Regions from separate parts of the Homo sapiens genome. Here regions 2 and 3 are each linked to region 1. The links are contacts of gene promoters, found by promoter capture Hi-C in human tissues and cell types (Jung and others, 2019). All regions are on one chromosome and are shown on one strand. The core of a region is centred on a gene start or on the middle of the fragment in contact, and the rest is flanking DNA. Distances in the headings are between cores, read along the strand shown. Region 1 holds the start of PRKAG1 (protein kinase AMP-activated non-catalytic subunit gamma 1). Region 2 overlaps DDX23 (DEAD-box helicase 23). Region 3 holds the start of RND1 (Rho family GTPase 1).

Region 1 (4,159 bases), core at 898-3,397:
GGGTCCTTGGCCCAAATCTATCTGTTCTTCAATTTATCTTTCATGCTTTCACCAAGTTTGTTCACCAAAGCATCTCAGATTTGGAAGGGACTTTCATCCCCATTAACAAGAAACTTTACTTTTCGAAGTAGCTCAGTCCATGTACAGAAAGCTGCTATGAACATTCCTAAAGGACATTCACTGACTTGCTCATAAATCTTCCATGGGTCCCCTATTACAAAACAAAGTTCAAATTTAGCATGGTGTGTAATACCTTCAACCTGATCTTAGCCTGCTTTTCCAGTCTTTTCTCCCACTGTGACCAAAATCCAAAGCCAGCAACATCATGCCGCTGGCTCACCCCCAGTTCTCTACATACCCCAATTTCAGTGCCCTTGCTCACACTGTTCTCTCAATTTGCAGTGCCCTCTCCTAGGTCCAAAGTAATTTTTCTCTCAGCTATTCTGTCACAGTCCTCTGTTTTCATATTGATGACAGCATTTATTATAGTCTACCTTTAAATAACAGCTGTTGCTGGCTTGCCCTCACCATCACTCCAGTTAGGCTGAACATTTTCAAAGCAGGAGTTTTCTTTCTTTTCTTTTTTTTTGGAGACAGGATCTCACTGTGTCACTCAGACTGGAGTGCAGTGGCATGATCTCAGCTCACTCCAGCCTCCACCTCTTTGGATCAAGCGATCCTCCCACCTGAGCCTCCCGAGTAGCTGGGACTACAGGCACACACCACCACCACCACGCCTGGGTAATTTTTGTATTTTTGTTTCTGTCGAGACAGGCTTTCATCATGTTGCCCAGGCTGATGCTGAACTCCTGAGCTCAAGCAATCCACTTGCCTTGGCCTCCCAAAGTACTGGCATTACAGGCGTGAGCCACCACACCTGGCTGAGTTTTCTTTTTCCTCTTTTTAACTTCTACCCCAGAGCCTAATCCAGTACATAAAGTGTAAAGGCTAAATTAGAAAATCTATATAAAAATGCTTTGTAAACCATAATACATTTACAAGTAAGTAGAATATGACATGTCATTTTAAATTTAATGGAATTAGACTCCTTATTTTTGTTTAAGATTATCCTGATTAGTCAGAATTGGCTCCCTTGCCTGGGAGACCAACTGCGAATCATTTTAGTACTTTGGTCGGTTTTCTTTTTGAAAACCTGAAAGAAACAACCTCTCTGTGAGCAGAGAAACGGTGTGGCAAAGAATTACTCTGGGCATGTAATCCAAAGCAAAGTGAACCTGCAGTCCTTTCGTAACTACAGTAGCAGATGATAAAAACCAAGATGGAAAGAGTTACTCTGCCTGAAAGAAGACACATGGTTAAAAACTGTGGAGAGGGAAGTGTATGGGAGGGGTTACAGAGCGCTAGAAAAAGACTCCTGAGAGTGAGGGTGGGTGCAAACATGTAGCAGGCAACCCGCAGCATCTGTGGGAGGGTGACAGGGCCCTGCCACAATTGGTCAATGCCTGCTCGCCAAGAATGAGCTATGCCAAAACCCCTGCTTAGAGTCGCAGAGCGGGCCATGACCTAAAATTGTCCAGGGACACATCGGCCTCTAACACTGCAAGATTTCCTCTTTCAAGCAAACCTCAATTCTCGGTCTTATTAAGGGAATGTGACTTCACTGGACGCAGTATAAAGATCTTCAGATGTCCTCCTGCCGGGGATTGCAGGGATCACAGAAAGACCATCGAGGTCCAGGAGCTACCTGCAAGCGGAGATCCCTCTGGACGCCCCGTGCCTCACCCAGCAAAGCCGGCTCACAACCCTGCGCTCTCAAACCTCTAAAAGGGCTTGAGGTGCCAATAGGAAAGGAGGCCCGAGATTGCCACGGCATACGTGGGCCCCAAGGAGGGAGCCAGGAGTCACTGCCTGCTTGGGCTAAGGGTACCGCGTACGGAAAGGCGGCGGGGACGCGGCCCAGTTCCAGGAGATGCGCCCAACGAAGAAGCGGAGGAACAGGGTCACGGGATAGGGCAGACACCCGGCTGCTTTTTGTTTGCTAGACACCAGCGCCAGCCCCTGCCCGGCCCTCCCGGTCTCCTAAGGGTTGGGGGGGTGTCTTAGGCTCCACAGCGCCCCCGACCGCCCTCCTGCACTCCTCACCGTCTCCATTGCAAGAGGCGCCCGGCTTGGTTTCCTCGCTTTAGGAAACTCTCTTGGGGCAGGCCCCGCCCCACATCCGGTGCGGCGACGCCACTTCCGCCCACGTCATGGCAGTCGCCAGACTGGGGCGGAAGGCAAGGAACCCACCCTTCCGGCGGTGGCGGGCCTCGGTAACCGCCCTCCCCCGGGTCCTCGCGGACCGCACGGATCCGGCTGACGGCGAGGGTCATGGGACGGAGCCGCTTGTATTTAAAATGTTCTTTTTTTATTTGTCGTTTAAAAACAAACTTGGAAGAAGCAAAATCCAAAACTTGCCCTTTGCCTCTCGCAACATAAATATGTACAGTTCAGAATGATCGCTGATACAAAACATGCCAAGGACAGGGGCGCTGAGGGTGGAGGGAGAGAGGGCGCTTTAAAAAAGGGAACCATTTCATCCGTTGTTACGAAGGACCAACCTTGCTGTACAGGATACACACAACACAAAATAAAGTCTTCACGGGATTCACACTTGTCAGCGATTTATTTTTTAAAAAGGGGGAGGGTCCTGGAGGTGAGGGGAGAAGACTGTAAAGGGGAAAACTGAAAACTGAGTATGTGCGAGTGTAAACCAACCCAAAATACAAACACGGGGGCGGGGGGTGGGGTGGGGGATTCTGATGCAATTATACAGGCAGGGTACTTAAAAAAAAAACCAACCAAAATTCCAACCTTGTAGCTTGGGTCTGAGTTATAGTTTATATAAAAATTAAAAACTGTATAAGGTTTCTTCACTAAATTCTACAGGACTATCGGATACCTAGCATATGCTTACAAAGTCTGCCCCATCCCCTTTTCCCAATCCCAGGGCCCAAGCCCCAAACACAGCCTGACTCACGGGAGCCAATCTCCCCCTCCCTGTAGCCTAGACCTTCTGCTCTCGGAAAAGGAACATCCAAGGGCTGTGGCTTTGAGGGCAGCAGCCCAGTCTTCCTACTGTCTGATTTAATTACAGCGGTTCCTGTGGGAGTGGGGGCTGTTATTCTCTTAAACATTTGCAGCTTGAAACAGTTGAGGAAGCAGCTTTAAAAAAAAAAAATCTCCCTACCCCCAACAATCCACAACCCCCCAAATTCAAAACAAAACAAAAACAAACCTAAAATCACAACAGCGACCAAGCTCCCCCTCCAGCAGGCCCGCCCGTCCACCACCACCAAGCCCACCCCTACACTCCAGACATCTGATTCTTGAAAATATTAATTACAAAATGCCCTTTGCCCACAGCCCCTAGAAGAGAACTGCATATAAGCTTCATCTTCATCCCCACGGTTCCCTACCAGAGAGGGGTTTGGGGCCTCACCCACCCCTTACCTACTCCCACCCCCAGGAAGAGGTTCAACTGCAGCACAAGCTTGGGCAGAAAGGGGAAGGAAAGGGAGGCAAGGAACCCATCACCCTCTGGCTCCCCCTGGGGTCAGCTCTCTTTTGTGCGTTATAACATAGTCCAACTATACAACAGGGGGTGGGAATTGCCCAGCCTCTATACCCCCATCTTACAGCAGTCACAGCCAGGGGGTGGGGAGTGGGGTGGGGGGTGAGGAAAAGGGCGGTAGGTCGGGTAATGGAGGGGGCCCCCCCACAAGGGGAGCTCCATGTGTCCGCCCCACACCCCCCTACCATTTATAAACTGGTTTTGTAAAAAGAAAATAGATATATTTATATAGAATATATAAAGCACAAAAATTAGTAGTTTTACATTTGCTCTCCCCGGGGGGTGGGGGGAGAGGGGAGGGTTCTCACCTCCAGCCGGCTCCCCCATGCCCCACAAGACTATGTACAATCCCATGTATAAATAGATAAATACCCCCCACCCTCCCCGCGCTGACACTAAGCTCCCCCACCCCCACATCACCACCCCTTCCCACCAGACCAGCAGCAGTTTGGTGACTGAGGGAAAGTGGGAGCTCCGGGCCACACCCTGCCTCACTAGGTATGGGCATGCCACTCAGGGATAGCCCTCACCCTACCCCCCACCCAACCCGTCCAGGGGCTGGAGGGCAAACAGGCTCATGATGAG
Region 2 (4,159 bases), core at 992-3,491, 170 kb before region 1:
GTCCAGGAGGGAGGTGGGGGGGTCATCCCCCCACCCGGCCAGCCGCCCATCCGGGAGGGAGGTGGGGGGGTCAGCCCCCGGCCCGGCCAGCCGCCCTGTCCGGGAGGTGAGGGGCGCCTCTGCCCGGCCGCCCCTACTGGGAAGTGAGGAGCCTCTCTGCCCAGTCAGCCGCCCCGTCCGGGAAGGAGGTGGGGGAGGTCAGCCCCCCGCCCGGCCAGCCGCCCCATCCGGGAGGGAGGTAGGGGGGTCAGCCCCCCGCCCGGCCAGCCACCCCGTCCGGGAGGAAGGTGGGGGGGTCAGCCCCCCGCCCGGCCAGCCGCCCCGTCCGGGAGGGAGGTGGGGGGGTCAGCCCCCCGCCCGGCCAGCCGCCCCGTCCAGGAGGTGAGGGGCGCCTCTGCCCGGCCGCCCCTACTGGGAAGTGAGGAGCCCCTCTGCCCGGCCAGCCGCCCCGTCCGGGAGGGAGGTGGGGGGGTCAGCCCCCCGCCCGGCCAGCCGCCCCGTCCAGGAGGTGAGGGGCGCCTCTGCCCGGCCGCCCCTACTGGGAAGTGAGGAGCCCCTCTGCCCGCCCACCACCCCGTCTGGGAGGTGTACTCAACAGCTCATTGAGAACGGACCATGATGACAGTGGCGGTTTTGTGGAATAGAAAGGCGGGAAAGGTGGGGAAAAGATTGAGAAATCGGATGGTTGCCGTGTCTGTGTAGAAAGAGGTAGACATGGGAGACTTTTCATTTTGTTCTGTACTAAGAAAAATTCTTCTGCCTTGGGATCCTGTTGATCTGTGACCTTACCCCCAACCCTGTGCTCTCTGAAACATGTGCTGTGTCCACTCAGGGTTGAATGGATTAAGGGTGGTGCAAGATGTGCTTTGTTAAACAGATGCTTGAAGGCAGCATGCTCGTTAAGAGTCATCACCACTCCCTAATCTCAAGTACCCAGGGACACAAACACTGCGGAAGGCCGCAGGGTCCTCTGCCTAGGAAAACCAGAGACCTTTGTTCACTTGTTTATCTGCTGACCTTCCCTCCACTATTGTCCTGTGACCCTGCCAAATCCCCCTCTGCAAGAAACACCCAAGAATGATCAATTAAAAAAAAAAAAACCCAAAAAAAACAAAATCTGGTGGCAGATGCCTGTAGTCCAGCTACTCAGGAGGCTGAGGTGGGTGGATCACCTAAGCCTGGGGGAGTCAAGGCTGCAGTAAGTTGTGATCACACCACTGCACTCCAGCCTGGGCAAAAGAGACCCTGCCTCAAAAAAATAAATAAAAATAAATAAGAAAGAGAGCTCTGTAATAACTACCAACAGAATCTGTTAAGAGAAATCTACTTTCTTTCTTTCTTTTTTTTTTTTTTTTTTTGAGACAGAGTCTTGCTCTGTCGCCCAGGCTGGAGTGCAGTGGCGTGATCTCGACTCACTGCAGGCTCCGCCTCCCGGGTTCACGCCATTCTCCTACCTCAGCCTCCTGAGTAGCTGGGACTACAGGCACCCGCCACCACGCCCGGCTAATTTTTTGTATATTTAGTAGAGACGGGGTTTCACCATGTTAGCCAGGATGGTCTCGATCTCCTGACTTCGTGATCCACCAGCCTCAGCCTCCCAAAGTGCTGGGATTACAGGCGTGAGCCACCACGCCTGGCGAGAAATCTACTTTCATAAGAAGCTGAGCAAACTCAGGTGCAGAGAAGAAATGGGAGCATTCCCCTAAAGCCCCCTCTCATTCCTTCATGTACCTGGATCGTTTACGGTCCTTGTCCCGTCTGTGCCCATCCTTGTCTCGATCTCGGTCCTTCTTATTCCGATCCCGCTCCTTATCTCGTTCTCGTTCTTTGTGCCGTCGTTCTCTGGAAGACCGCAAATTTAAGAGTTCACTTGGTATTTCCAAAGTATCTTGCTTCACTGCAGCCCTGAGAAAGTTCCTATACTCTCGTCCCAAAGTAATGTTTTACAAATTAGAGAATGTATCTCTCACGGAAATAACGAGGGAATTCTAAGAAGCTTTTATAGATCAGAGATGTACTGTTAAATATTAACGGCAATGACAGGTCACGGACTATGTGAACAGATGAACCTTCCTTTTTTATTTTTTTGAGATGGAGTCTCACTCTCACGCCCAGGCTGGAGTGCAGTGGTGTGATCTCGGCTCACTGCAGCCTCTGCCTCCCGAGTTCAAGGAATTGTCATGCCTCAGCCTCCCGAGTAGCTGGGATTACAGATGTGCACCACCATGCCTGGCTAATTTTTGTATTTTTAGTAGAGACGGGGTTTTGCCATGTTGGCCAGGCTGCTCTCAAACTCCTCACCTCAAGTAATCCACCTACCTCGGCCTCCCAAAGTGCTGGGATTATAGGTATGAGCCACCGCGCCCGGCCACAGATGAACCTTCCTTGATAACCCGGACCTTCACCTTACTAGTTCCCTCTCAACTTTTTTTTTTTTTATTTTTAGTAGAGATCAGGTATCACTGTGTTAGCCAGGATGGTCTCGATCTCCTGACCTCGTGATCCACCTGCCTCGGCCTCCCAAAGTGCTGGGATTACAGGCGTGAACCAACCGCGCCCGGCCCCCTCTCAACTTTTAAGAGTTGGGTCACTGAGGAAAACTGAAAACACCTGCAGGTCCAACTGGGCTAGGAGTAGATTAATGTACAAAAAGTAGATGCCTAGCCGGGCGTGGTGGCTCACGCCCGTAATCCCAGCACTTTGGGAAGCTGAGGTGGGTGGATCACCTGAGGTCGGAAGATTGAGATCAGCCTGACCAACGTGGAGAAACCCCGTCTCTACTAAAAGTACAAAATTAGCCAGGTGTGGTGGCACATGCCTGTAATCCCAGCTATTCGGGAGGCTGAGGCAGGAGAATTGCTTGAACCTGGGAGGCAGAGGTTGCAGTGAGCCGAGATCGTGCCATTGCACTCCAGCCTGGGAAACAAGAGTGAAACTCCATCTTTTAAAAAAAAAAAAAAAAAGGCCAGGCGCGGTGGCTCACGCCTATAATCTCAGCACTTGGGGAGGCTGAAGCAGGCAGATCACGTCAGGAGATCGAGACCATCCTGGCTAACACGGTGAAACCTCATCTCTACTAAAAATACAAAAACATTAGCCGGGCATGGTGTCGGGCGCCTGTAGTCCCAGCTACGCACTCAGGAGGCAGAGGCAGGAGAATGGCGTGAACCTGCGAGGCGGAGCTTGCAGTGAGCTGAGATCGCACCACTGCACTCCAGTCTGGGTAACAAACAGAGCGAGACTCTGTCTCAAAAAATAAAAATAAAAAGTAGATGCCTAATACTGGAGGCATCAGAAGAACCAAGAAGGAAGAAATCTGAAACGTACTCTCCCTTCCCATGTAATAACATACAAAGTTACTTTACCTTTCTGCAGATTTGGAACGGGAACGAGAGCGAGAACGGCTGCCTCCTCGACGTCTATCCCTTGAACGATGCCGCTTTCTATCTTTAGATGGGGAAGACTTCCGGTCCCGGTCTCTATCCCGCTCTCTGTCAGGAGTCCGTGATCGCTTCCTTTCCTCCTTGGAAGGTGATGCATCACGGTCCTTTTTGTCAGCCAGCTCTCCTGCCATCTGTAATGAGTAGGAAGAGTACTTACAATGTACTAGGCACTGCTCTAAACTGCTTATATATAATTCAATTACCCTCAAAACAACCCTATGAGGTGGATATATTAGTATGTCTACCGTACAGATGAGAACGGTGGAGCTCAGGTATATAAAGGAACTTGTCTGAGGGCAGACAGGTAGTGGCAGAGTTGCAGGCAGTCTGGCTCCACAGGCCATCGTTACTCACTATATTGTCTCCCTGTAATTCCTTTCAGAGTCTCACTCTGTCACCCAGGCTGGAGTGCAGTGGTGCAATCATAGGTCACTGCAGCTTCAACTTCCTGGGCTCAAGCCATCCTCCTGCCTTGCCTAGCTAATTTATTTTTTTTATAGACAGGGTCTCACTATGCTGCCCAGGCTGGTCTTAAATTCCTGACCTCAAGCAATCCTCCTGCCTCAGCCTCTAAAAGGCTGAGATTACAGGCGTGAGCCACAGTGCCTGGTCGATTCCTTTTTATATATTCATTTCTAAATATGTACAGTGAATATACCATGTTTTTGTAATTAGACTACAAAAGAGTATTAAAAGAAGTGTTAGTGTATGAACAG
Region 3 (4,159 bases), core at 964-3,463, 150 kb before region 1:
TTTTTGTTTGGGGAGGAAAGGCTCATTGTCTGTCTAACCATTCCCTAGCCCCAATCTTTTCAGACCTCAGAATTAGAGCATGGGAACAACAGCTGTTGAAGGAGCAGGACAGCATATTTATTATATGTAGCAGGAAACACCTAGTGATTTACGGTCCCTTTTTAAACTCAGCCTGAATATGCATTTTTGGGGAGGGGTGGATTTTATTTTCTTTCTCTTATTCCCGGCTTTTACTCCTTAATTATGACTCTGAGCCAGTCTATTGAAAAAGGTCTGGGGTAAAGAGATAATGGGAAGGGGTCAGAATCAAGGCAAAGGATAGCCTAGCACTAAGGGCTTGGGGCTGAGAGGCTGGAAAAACATTGTTTCTACATTCTAGAGAGACAGGGCATATTCTACCTCACCCCAGTAGAGGGAAAACAGTCAGAGCCAACCTCCCCTCTGCCCTGCCGGCCACTATTCACAACTGACTATGCCCTATATTAAGCCATCTCCCCCAACTTCCAAAACATCGATGATGCATTGCTTCATCCCCGAGCTGCAGCGGTGTGACGAGTGGGGCTGAGCTGCGGCAGGAGGACAGCAGTGGCCCAAGATGGAATGCAGGAGACAAAACTGAGTCTGAGCAACCTTTCCCCAAAGCAGACTTGTCTCTCCGCCCCAACCACGCTGCCTCCAGCAGCACTGCCTCTTGCCTCTTATTTGGCTTTGCTCTGGGGAAGTAAAAGGTGTGTGTGTGTGTGTGTGTGTGTGTGTGTGTGCGCGCGCGCGCGTGTGTGTGCATGTGTGTACGCGTGCATGTTGGGTGGTAGGGAATGGAAATGGAGAAGTCCTGTTTTACTGCCCACCCCCAGGACTATTCATGGGTCCCTTCACCTCACCATCCCAGCCCTCTAAAGGGTGGAACCAGACCCAGGGAAGAGAGTGGCTCCTGGGGTTCACCCACTCTGCACCCTTGGACCATGCAACTGAGTCCACCAACTGTCAGCCCTCCCCACAACTAATGAGTCTTCAGATCCTCTTTTTTCACTTCTCCCCACCAAAGGGGAAAACAATTTCTAAAAGACAGCAGCTACACAGCAGACCAGTAGGGGTGGGAAAGGGGTATTTGGAGCAGAATTCTTACCTGAGGTATCCCAGAGACTAAGCTCCACCCTCTGTTCCTCTGTCTCCAAACAGGCTGTGTAATTTTCGAACACGGTGGGCACATAGGTCTGTGAAAAGAGAGGAAACATTCACCCCATGCACCCCTACCCTCAGATCCCCTGGTTAGTGCTGGCTACACACGCACTCACCAGAGAGACAGTAAAGTCACAGGAGACAAGAAACCAGAGGAGATGCCTGGGGCAGGAGGGAAGGGACTGTGGAGGACCAGGCACTTTGCTCTGCAGCAGTGAGAAATGTGAATGACACCCCCCCACACCACCACACCAGGGGTAAGCCCCCCATATCCTAGGCGATCAGGGACACACACACACACAGATTCCTCCCATCCCCAGATTTGTGTTTCCCAATTTGAGAGAGCCACAGGCCAAAGCCAATCCTAGCTCATCTCCTCTCAAACCCCTCCCGGCCAGGTGAACAGAGGGGCTGCAGAAGCCTGCCTGAAGGCACAGGCATAGAGCCTTTGAGGAGCAGGTGAGCGGATAGGCAGGGATTACGTCAAGAAGAAACCCCAGACTTTCAAATGCCTCCAGTGCCCTCACCTGAGAGCAGACTCCAGGGACGCAGGAAGGTGGAGGGGATCTGATGGGTCCTCTGGGTGAAGAGGTGAGGAGGAGCCAGCGGGGCGGCAGAAGTGGAACAGGTCTCAGGGGAAGCTAAGGCAGGGCAGTCCTCCAGCCAAAAAGCAGCTGAGGATGGTAAAGCCTCAGAAAGCGGCTGAGGATGGGCTGGGGCTGGGGGAGCCACGTCTCCTGAGCAGGTGGAAATCTACCCCAAGGCGGGCAGGCAGGGAGAAAAGCCGGCCAGCGGGCGGGCGGGCAGCTCACCTCTGGATAGCAATCCTTCGCTAACACTTGCAACATCGCGGTCTTCCCACACTGCACGTCCCCGACCAGAACGAGCTTACATCTGGCCACGACTGGCTGGGGGGCCCGTCTCTCCTTCATGGTTGCAGTGTCCGCGGGACTTGAACTTCGATTCAGAAGGGAGGGTTGCGCCAGGTGCGTCTCAGCACGCCAATCAAGCCAGATTCCCTGCCTCCCTCCAACTGAGGAGGAGGCCGGCACAGCCGCCTTTTATTTTTCTGGCTGAGCCAATCACAAGAGGAGGCGGACTCTGTTACGCCCAATCCCTGAGGTGGGATTCCCTCCAGCAGCCAATGGATCTGAGGATCTGAGTCAGCGCCCCCTTCCTCCCTTCTCTTTCTCTTAAAGCTGCACCGTTGTTTCCCCCTGAAAGGGGATTCCCAGGTTGTTTTGCATTTGTATTAGGAAGTGGAAAGGGTACTGGAAGCAAAATGAAATGATCTGGAGTGTCTACCAATAAGTGTCAGAAAAACAAACTAGCTATGGAAGCAGGAAGTGAGGTCAGGCTGGAGTTGCAGGGACTGTCCCGGGTGGGTTACAAAAGCAGGACCTGCTTAGACTATAGACAGGTGTGTGTGTGTGTGTGTGTTTTGGAGGAGTAGGGGATGGGGGAGGTGGCCCAGAACTTCTCTGACATTTTTTTTCTTTTTTTTCCTTACATCTTTTGTTTTAAATAGAGACAGGGGTCTCACCATGTTATCCAGGCTGGTCTTGAACTTCTGGGCTCAAGCAATCCGCCTGTCTCAGCCTCCCAAAGTGCTGGGACTACAGACATGAGCCACAGCGCCTGGCCTGATGTCTGACTTTTTTGTTTTTTCTAATTCCCATCCAAACCAGTTCTTACTTCCCTTTATTTCCCCTCCCAATATCAGCTCCTGCTGTACCTCTTTTATTTATTTATTTATTTATTTATTTATTTATTTATTTATTTATTTATTTATTTTGAGATGGAGTTTCGCTCTTGTTGCCCAGGCTGGAGTGCAATGGCACGATCTCAGCTCACTGCAACCTCCATCTCCCGGATTCAAGCGATTCTCCTGCCTCAGCCTCCCGAGTAGCTGGGATTACAGGCATGCACCACCATGCCCAGCTAATGTTGTATTTTTAGTAGAGACGGGGTTTCTCCATGTTGGTCAGGCTGGTCTCGAACTCCCGACCTCAGGCGATCCGCCCGCCTTGGCCTCCCAAAGTGCTGGGATTATAGGCGTCAGCCACCGTGCCCGGCCTGTGCCCCTTTTAAAGCCTTCTCTTCTTCAAGAATCACCTTCACCACCAAAGACAGAGAGAGAGAAAGAGAAAGAGAAAACTTTCTAGAGTCATCCATAAAAAAAACACACAGCACCTGACCCAGTGATGGGCAGAGAGAAATGAGGGACTCTGGCAAGTGGGGGTGGGAGAGAGGAAGAAGACAAAGCAAACACAGTCACTGTTTGGCCAGACAGCCTCTCACCCATGCCTAGCAGAAGCTGCTTAGGGGTGTTTGTTCTGCGGCCTAGGCTCAGCTTCCTGGATGAATCAGGCACAGGTCCAGTTCCATGTTAACGCCCACTGAAACTGACGCACTAATGTGTGTCACCTGGTTAAAGTCCAGACTGGGCCCAGGATTTTGGGATTAGAAGCTGGAGGACAATCTAAGGTTGAGATGAACTACATAAATTTTTTTTTTTTTTTTTTTTGAGATGGAGTCTCGCTCTGTTACCCGGGCTGGAGTGCAGTGGCTTGATCTCAGTTCACTGCAACCTCTGCCTCCCGGGTTCAAGCAATTCTCCTGTCTCAGCCTCCCGAGTAGCTGAGACTACAGGCGCACGTCACCATGCCTGGCTAATTTTTGTATTTTCAGTAGAGACAGGGTTTCACCATATTGGTCAGGCTGGTCTCAAACTCCTGACCTTAAGTGATCCACCCACATCGGCCTCCCAAAGTGCTGGGATTACAGGCGTGAGCCACCGCGCCCAGCCGAGCTTCATAACTTCTTAACAGCCCTGACTGATGGGGCCCCTGTATTTTGGGGAGCCTCTACTAGACAGAACTATGGGCTGTCCACAGCTTAAATAAACCACTGATTGTCCAGGAATCAAGACCGTACAAATAAGGGCTCCTGGAGATTTGTGATTGAAGGAAGACCAACT

The links. Contacts are between HindIII fragments. The study calls those that stand out against the background at their distance.
Region 2: a fragment that was not itself captured here is called in contact with the fragment with the promoter of PRKAG1 in region 1 in 2 of the 25 tissues and cell types used here (H1 embryonic stem cells and lymphoblastoid cells).
Region 3: a contact is called between the fragment with the promoter of RND1 here and the fragment with the promoter of PRKAG1 in region 1, in 1 of the 25 tissues and cell types used here (IMR-90 fibroblasts).

Annotation. Positions count from the first base shown.
Region 1 is chr12:49,016,629-49,020,787 of GRCh38, forward strand. PRKAG1 (protein kinase AMP-activated non-catalytic subunit gamma 1) reads right to left here and starts at 2,148. Exons shown (of 12, transcript NM_002733.5): 1 at 2,104-2,148. The coding sequence starts at 2,112. KMT2D (lysine methyltransferase 2D) reads right to left here. Exons shown (of 55, transcript NM_003482.4): 55 at 2,350-4,159. It overlaps DDN-AS1 (DDN and PRKAG1 antisense RNA 1), which reads left to right. Exons shown (of 2, transcript NR_147179.1): 2 at 1,608-2,612. RefSeq lists enhancers at 1,189-1,779, 2,352-2,551. The HindIII fragment of the contact is 13,264 bases long and covers 1-4,109 here.
Region 2 is chr12:48,842,209-48,846,367 of GRCh38, forward strand. It overlaps DDX23 (DEAD-box helicase 23), which reads right to left. Exons shown (of 17, transcript NM_004818.3): 2 at 3,366-3,574; 3 at 1,732-1,842. The coding sequence starts at 3,574. Among named protein-coding and RNA genes, the nearest start is that of DDX23, 7.9 kb to the right of the region's middle. The HindIII fragment of the contact is 6,479 bases long and covers 1-4,159 here.
Region 3 is chr12:48,863,657-48,867,815 of GRCh38, forward strand. It overlaps RND1 (Rho family GTPase 1), which reads right to left and starts at 2,214. Exons shown (of 5, transcript NM_014470.4): 1 at 1,992-2,214; 2 at 1,127-1,214. The coding sequence starts at 2,111. RefSeq lists enhancers at 2,028-2,147, 2,408-2,537. The HindIII fragment of the contact is 19,361 bases long and covers 1-4,159 here.